Regions from separate parts of the Homo sapiens genome. Here region 1 is linked to region 2. Evidence: promoter capture Hi-C in 16 types of primary human blood cells and fetal thymus (Javierre and others, 2016). All regions are on one chromosome and are shown on one strand. The core of a region is centred on a gene start or on the middle of the fragment in contact, and the rest is flanking DNA. Distances in the headings are between cores, read along the strand shown.

The links. Contacts are between HindIII fragments. The CHiCAGO score rates a contact against its expected background, and 5 or more counts as called.
Region 1: a contact is called between a fragment that was not itself captured here and the fragment with the promoter of PRC1-AS1 in region 2, in 1 of 17 cell types (total B cells). The highest score is 5.1, in total B cells.

The regions. Positions count from the first base shown.
Region 1 is chr15:90,083,172-90,086,724 of GRCh38, reverse strand. It overlaps IDH2 (isocitrate dehydrogenase (NADP(+)) 2), which reads left to right. Exons shown (of 11, transcript NM_002168.4): 8 at 1,338-1,450; 9 at 1,627-1,724; 10 at 1,817-1,909; 11 at 2,372-3,553. The coding sequence ends at 2,459. Among named protein-coding and RNA genes, the nearest start is that of ZNF710-AS1, 2.7 kb to the right of the region's middle. RefSeq lists enhancers at 1,746-2,246, 2,247-2,747. The HindIII fragment of the contact is 2,375 bases long and covers 901-3,275 here.
Region 2 is chr15:90,964,627-90,968,420 of GRCh38, reverse strand. It overlaps PRC1-AS1 (PRC1 antisense RNA 1), which reads right to left and starts at 2,052. Exons shown (of 4, transcript NR_051984.1): 1 at 1,743-2,052. PRC1 (protein regulator of cytokinesis 1) reads left to right here. Exons shown (of 15, transcript NM_003981.4): 15 at 1,219-2,381. The coding sequence ends at 1,290. The HindIII fragment of the contact is 668 bases long and covers 1,597-2,264 here.

The DNA of each region.
Region 1 (3,553 bases), core at 839-3,338, 880 kb after region 2:
GAATGTTGGGGAAGCCTGCAAACCCCCAAGCCCTAGGGTGTCCTAAAAGACAAATCAGATTGCAGTAAAAAGTATAGGTGATGAGGTCAGGAGTTTGAGACCAGCGTGGCCAACATGACGAAACCCCGTCTCTACTAAAAATGCAAAAAAATTTAGCTGGGCATGGAGGCGGGCACAGTCATGGACACCTGTAATCCCAGCTACTTGAGAGGCTGAGGCAGGAGAATCTCTTGAACCCAGGAGGTGGAGGTTGCAGTGAGCCGAGATTGCGCCATTGCACTCCAGCCTGGGCAACAAGGGTGAAACTCCGTCTCCAAAAAAAATAAAAAATAAAAAATAAAGTATAGGTGAGACCATTAGAGAAGAACAGCGAGAAATGGGCCAATTGTGTTGGGAACAAGAGCAGGAAAGGTGGTAGGTGTGGGAAACAGGCAGGACATAGAGAGTGAAAGAGAAACCTAAGCTTACCAGGGCAGCTCCTGGTATGGGGAAAAGGGAAGCCCAGGACGGGTTCTGATGAAAAGCAGAGTCTTGTTACTTTGTGTAAACCTTTGGCTTTACTTTGGAAAGTTCAGTGGGGATCCTCTCACCGAACAATTCCCATCTAGGATAGAAGGATGAAACGCCATAGCAGATGAGGCAGAGGCATGAAAATGAACCTTAAGTGTCTAAGGAATGGTGTGAAGGTGCAGGTAAAATGGAGAAGGGATTGCTTACAGCCAAAATTCTTAGAATTCATAGACAAAGCATTTTCCTGTAGATGTTGTCCATGTTTTCTTTCTTCAATCCTTATTTTGGTGTCATGGGGGTGCCTTTGAAGCCCTGGAGTCCTTGACAATAGAAAAGCTTGCTGGAGTTGACATGTGGATTTGGGAGCATTCAGAAATTAATCAAAAAGCTTGAAAGTGGCCTAAGAGAGTAGCTGCAAAAGTGATTGTTGGGAAATAGCTGACCACAGCTTTATTGTTTTCCTTGAATGTGCCTCCGGGTCACGAGCCAGGCTGGGTGGCAGGCTGTGGGGGACCACAGGACTCTGTGGCCTCTTGGGCCCTGTGGGCCACAGGCTGTGGGGCGCCTGGAGCTGGTGACACAGATGGATGTTAATGTGCTGGTGATAGCCACCCTCCAGTGCCCTCCAGCCCTGTGCTGGGCCCTGGAGACCCACAGGAGGGTGAAGAGACCTGGAACAGTCCCTGTCCTCCCAGTTGCAGCTGGGGGAGGCTGAGTAGAGCCACGAACTATGGCAGCTACAATATTGGGTTGTAGAGGGCAGCAGGGCTCAGCTGGGTGGCCCCAGGAGAGGCGAGGCCCTGAGAGAAAGGCTTTCTACCCTCCAGGCTTTGGCTCCCTTGGCCTGATGACGTCCGTCCTGGTCTGCCCTGATGGGAAGACGATTGAGGCTGAGGCCGCTCATGGGACCGTCACCCGCCACTATCGGGAGCACCAGAAGGTGAGTGCAGGGCATGGGGCCTCACAATGCCCCTCTACCCCAGGGGCCTAAAGCCCACTGGGCTGAGGGCTGGAAGGACGAGCCTGACCCACCAGCCCAGGGGCGGGCAGCTGTATCTGGGCAGCCTCCTCACTAGCTGGCTCGGCTCTTGATCTCCCTGCAACCCCCGTCCCCAGGGCCGGCCCACCAGCACCAACCCCATCGCCAGCATCTTTGCCTGGACACGTGGCCTGGAGCACCGGGGGAAGCTGGATGGGAACCAAGACCTCATCAGGTGAGCATGGAGGGAGAGGCCGGAGCTGCCCAGGACAGGCTCTGGGTCCTGCCCTTGCACAGATGGGGTCTCATTCTGCCCCATCCCCATAGGTTTGCCCAGATGCTGGAGAAGGTGTGCGTGGAGACGGTGGAGAGTGGAGCCATGACCAAGGACCTGGCGGGCTGCATTCACGGCCTCAGCAAGTGCGTGGCCTGGGGTGGTAGGCAGACCCTGGGGCCATGTGGGAGGAAGCCAGGGGACCCCTCCTAAAGTCCCCCTCATGAGTCAGCTTAGCTGCAAGGGGGCCTGGGGCAGGACATGTCCACAGCCCTGAGAGACTGCTCAGGCCAGCCTCTGTAGACCAGGTCTAGTGAGTTCCTCCCCATCCCTGAGGCTGGCTACTCAGAGCTCCTTCCGACCCTGCCCACACCCCTTTCCCAGCTTCTCTCAGGAGAGCAGTTACCTGGCAAGACAGACCCTGCGGGTGCCTGCCGAATCTCGGTGGCCTCATGGTAGGGGGCTATAGCTGGCCTCTGGCCTGTAGTCTGGGTGGCAGGAGATGGCTGTTCTGATGCCCAAGCTCAGGCTGTTCCCTGGAAGGGCCTGGCTGATGGCCTTGGCAAGGCCTGGAGCCACCCCTGATGTGAGTGGTGCTCTCTCTGCAGTGTGAAGCTGAACGAGCACTTCCTGAACACCACGGACTTCCTCGACACCATCAAGAGCAACCTGGACAGAGCCCTGGGCAGGCAGTAGGGGGAGGCGCCACCCATGGCTGCAGTGGAGGGGCCAGGGCTGAGCCGGCGGGTCCTCCTGAGCGCGGCAGAGGGTGAGCCTCACAGCCCCTCTCTGGAGGCCTTTCTAGGGGATGTTTTTTTATAAGCCAGATGTTTTTAAAAGCATATGTGTGTTTCCCCTCATGGTGACGTGAGGCAGGAGCAGTGCGTTTTACCTCAGCCAGTCAGTATGTTTTGCATACTGTAATTTATATTGCCCTTGGAACACATGGTGCCATATTTAGCTACTAAAAAGCTCTTCACAAAATTGTCTGCTGTGTTTGTCCCTGAGGGGAGGAGGTAGTGGGACCCTGAGGCAGAGGCCCTGCTAGAGCTGGCAGGTTCCCCTGGGGCAGACCAGAGCACCTCAGGAAGGGGCTGCCACGGCAGGGAAGGGACCAGGCAGCCCTGGGAGCCCGCATTCCACAGGGGCCCACTGCGGAGTTCTCGGACACTCAGGGCACAGGCCTGTGGGTTCCCTGGAATTTTCTAGCATGATCCAGTTTCTGTGTCCAGTTCTCCATTCTGAGAGTCAATCAGTTCCTGATAGGTTGTCATTGATTTTTTTCTTCGTTGGTTTTAACCTTCTAAACATCTCCAGGCCACTTTCTTAGCCTTTTTCTAGGTACTAAAAAGAGGTCCTACCCACACCTGCCTCACACTTCTCCTTTCCAAGGCTGCCTGAGTTTGGAGGGGCTTGGGTGTGTGTGAACAAGGGCCCTGCATTGTCTAGGCCTGCAGTTCCCAGGCTTGGGTTCACTTTCACCATGCATTGGCAAAACTAGAAAAGTAAGCTTGTGACAAATTGTTCTCGGCCGGGCACAGTGGCGCACGCCTATAATCCCTGTACTTTGGGAGGCTGAGGTGGGTGGATCACTTGAGGCCAGGAGTTCGAGACCAGCCTGGCCAACATGGTGAAACCCCATCTCTACTCAAAATACAAAAATTAGCCAGGCGTGGTGATGCGCACCTGCAGTCCCAGCTACTCGGGAGGCTGAGGCAGGAAAATGGCTTGAACCTGGGAGGCAGAGGTTGCAGTGAGCCGAGACTGCACCACTGCACTCCAGCCTGGGT
Region 2 (3,794 bases), core at 803-3,302:
TTGAGGGGATATTGAGTTAAACCCCTAGCCTGCCTCCCCTCTTAATTGCTGCAGGGATAGAGAATGGAACAGTTGGCCAAGGCTGCAGCTAGTTTTGATCACTGAAACTGGCTTCCTACTCCAGCATGTTTTTCAAATTACGTGGCTGGTGGTGCTTCTACCTTTAAAAGTGGGTGTGTGTCACTCTGGCTGATTGCTGGACAGAGGTCCAGCTTTCTCTTTTTCGCTTGTTCAACCAAGGCCCATTTTATCTGAGGCTTAAATGTACCTGCCTATCTGTGTGGCTAGTCCTAGGTAGGTTCGTCTGGTTTGGGTTGCTATGGCTGATAGACTCCACCAGGCAGCACCAAAGCCGGTAAACTAACCTCTGCTAATATCTGTCTTTCTCAATAGCCATTCATGCTTTATCTTTTGCTGCTCTACCATGTGCTCCAGCATGAGATCAAATCACCAGCAGGTTACAAGGCCTCAGCCCCAGGGATTGGTAGATATATGTTCTGGCCCATTGTTTTATAAAGGGCTCAAGAGACCAAAGCTTGTTGCCTACTTACCTTGACAACTCTAAAGTAGCTCTGTGAAGTAGAGTCATGCCTCGCTTAATGACAGGGATATGTTCTGAGAATGTGGGGCAATTTCATTGTGCACATATCAGAGTGTACTTAACAGTCCTAGACAGAACAGCCTACACACCTAAACTATATGGTATGGCGTTTTCCTCCTAGGCTACAAACCTGGGCAGCATGTTACAGAAAGAATACTGTAGGCAATTGTGGGTTTTTTTGATTCAGGCTATTCCTGGGATACTGTAGGCAATTGTAACGCAATGGTAAGTATTTGTGTATCTAAACATAGAAAAGGTACAGTAAAAATATGGTATAATCTTATGGGACCACCATAGTGTATGTGGCCTGTCGTTAACTGAAACATCATTATGCAGTGCATGACTGTATGAAGGATTTCTCTTCTGTGAGGTGTAACAGAATGGACTGGCTGAGGAAAAAGGGGTCACGGGCATGCGTGCACATGCACTCTGTCTGTGACTAATAGAATGGTGCTCAGAGTTCCTCACCTTTTACTCCTAACGCAGCCTATTGCAGGCTAGGGATCTCAGAGAAACTACCTTCAAGGGACCTTTTGCTGACACTTAACCAAACTTAGAAGGGTGGGCCATGTGTAAGAGAGGCAGTATGGCCACTGATGTTATTTATTTTTCAACAGCGAGAACTTTCAAAGGCTTCCAAATCTGATGCTACTTCTGGAATCCTCAATTCAACCAACATCCAGTCCTGAGAAGCCCTGATCAGTCAACCAGCTGTGGCTTCCTGTGCCTAGACTGGACCTAATTATATGGGGGTGACTTTAGTTTTTCTTCAGCTTAGGCGTGCTTGAAACCTTGGCCAGGTTCCATGACCATGGGCCTAACTTAAAGATGTGAATGAGTGTTACAGTTGAAAGCCCATCATAGGTTTAGTGGTCCTAGGAGACTTGGTTTTGACTTATATACATGAAAAGTTTATGGCAAGAAGTGCAAATTTTAGCATATGGGGCCTGACTTCTCTACCACATAATTCTACTTGCTGAAGCATGATCAAAGCTTGTTTTATTTCACCACTGTAGGAAAATGATTGACTATGCCCATCCCTGGGGGTAATTTTGGCATGTATACCTGTAACTAGTAATTAACATCTTTTTTGTTTAGGCATGTTCAATTAATGCTGTAGCTATCATAGCTTTGCTCTTACCTGAAGCCTTGTCCCCACCACACAGGACAGCCTTCCTCCTGAAGAGAATGTCTTTGTGTGTCCGAAGTTGAGATGGCCTGCCCTACTGCCAAAGAGGTGACAGGAAGGCTGGGAGCAGCTTTGTTAAATTGTGTTCAGTTCTGTTACACAGTGCATTGCCCTTTGTTGGGGGTATGCATGTATGAACACACATGCTTGTCGGAACGCTTTCTCGGCGTTTGTCCCTTGGCTCTCATCTCCCCCATTCCTGTGCCTACTTTGCCTGAGTTCTTCTACCCCCGCAGTTGCCAGCCACATTGGGAGTCTGTTTGTTCCAATGGGTTGAGCTGTCTTTGTCGTGGAGATCTGGAACTTTGCACATGTCACTACTGGGGAGGTGTTCCTGCTCTAGCTTCCACGATGAGGCGCCCTCTTTACCTATCCTCTCAATCACTACTCTTCTTGAAGCACTATTATTTATTCTTCCGCTGTCTGCCTGCAGCAGTACTACTGTCAACATAGTGTAAATGGTTCTCAAAAGCTTACCAGTGTGGACTTGGTGTTAGCCACGCTGTTTACTCATACAGTACGTGTCCTGTTTTTAAAATATACAATTATTCTTAAAAATAAATTAAAATCTGTATACTTACATTTCAAAAAGATATAGTGTGGTGTTTCCTTTTTTTCCCCAGTCACTTTTTAGTTGGTTGGTCTGTGTGTGAAAAACAAACACAAAAAACTAAAAGGACCTCCTGGAAATTTTTAGTCAGGAGTGTGATTTTTTTTTTTGAGTCTCACTCTGTCGCCCAGGCTGGAGTACAGTGGCACTATCTTGGTTCAGTGCAACTTCCACCTCCCAGGTTCAAGCGATTCTCCTGCCTCAGCCTCCCGATTTGCTGGGATTACAGGCACGCACCATCACACCTGGCTAATTTTTGTATTTTTAGTAGAGACAGGCTTTCACCATGTTGGCCAGGCTGGTCTTGAACTCCTGACCTCAGATGATCTGCCTGCCTCCCAAAGTGCTGGGATGACAGGCATGAGCCACAGCACCCGGCCGAGTGTGATTTTTAAAATATTCTCTGGTACATTTCTAAATTAAGAATATCTCTTACTCTAATTTTTTGGTGAGAAATATAAAACCTAACCCCTGATGTGTAGAGAGCAAAGGGAGTCCTAGGATGCTTCTGGCTTCAATGCCGTTTGTCTCAATATGGGGAGGCTGCCCAACTTCAACAGCGTTACTGAAGGAGGATGGACATAAACTGCACACATGTGAAGCGTAAGAGAAAAACCATCGCCACAGTCCAGTTAACCAAGTCTCTCTACCCCAGCAGTTCTTCCCACCCCTTTCTCACTCCTCCTTCCCAGCCTCACCCTGCCGAGCAACCACTGATTTTTTTTTTTTTTTTTTTTTTTTTTTTTGAGATGGAGTCTCGCTCTTGCCAGGCTGGAGTGCAGTGGCACAATCTCAGCTCACTGCAATCTCTGCCTCCCAGGTTCAAGGGATTCTCCTGCCTCAGCCTCCCGCGTAGCTGGGACTGCAGGCACGTGCCATCACGCCTGGTAAATTTTTGTATTTTTGGTACAGACAGACAGGGTTTCACTGTATTAGCTAGGATGGTCTCGATCTCCTGACCTCATGATCCGCCCACCTCGGCCTCCCAAAGTGCTAGGACTACAGGCATGAGCCACTGTACCTGGCCCACCGATTTGTTACTACAGATTAGTTTGCGTTTTCTACAGTTCGATGTAAGTAGAATCATACAGTATATATTTTTTTGGTCTGGTTCTTTCACTACTTTCAGATTTACCCATATTGTTGCTTATATCCATAATTCTTTTTTTTTTTTTTTTTTTTTTTTTTTTTTTTTTTTGCTTAGTATTCCATGGTGTTGATATACCAGTTTATTCGCCTGTTAGGTTTATTTTTCACATTTGGCTTTTCTCCAGTTTTTGGCTATTAAAAACAAGGCTGTTATAAACATTCATGTACAAGTCTTTGTATGGATATATTTTTTTTTCTGGATAAATACCTAGGAGTGAAATGGCTGGATCACATCTATGGTATGT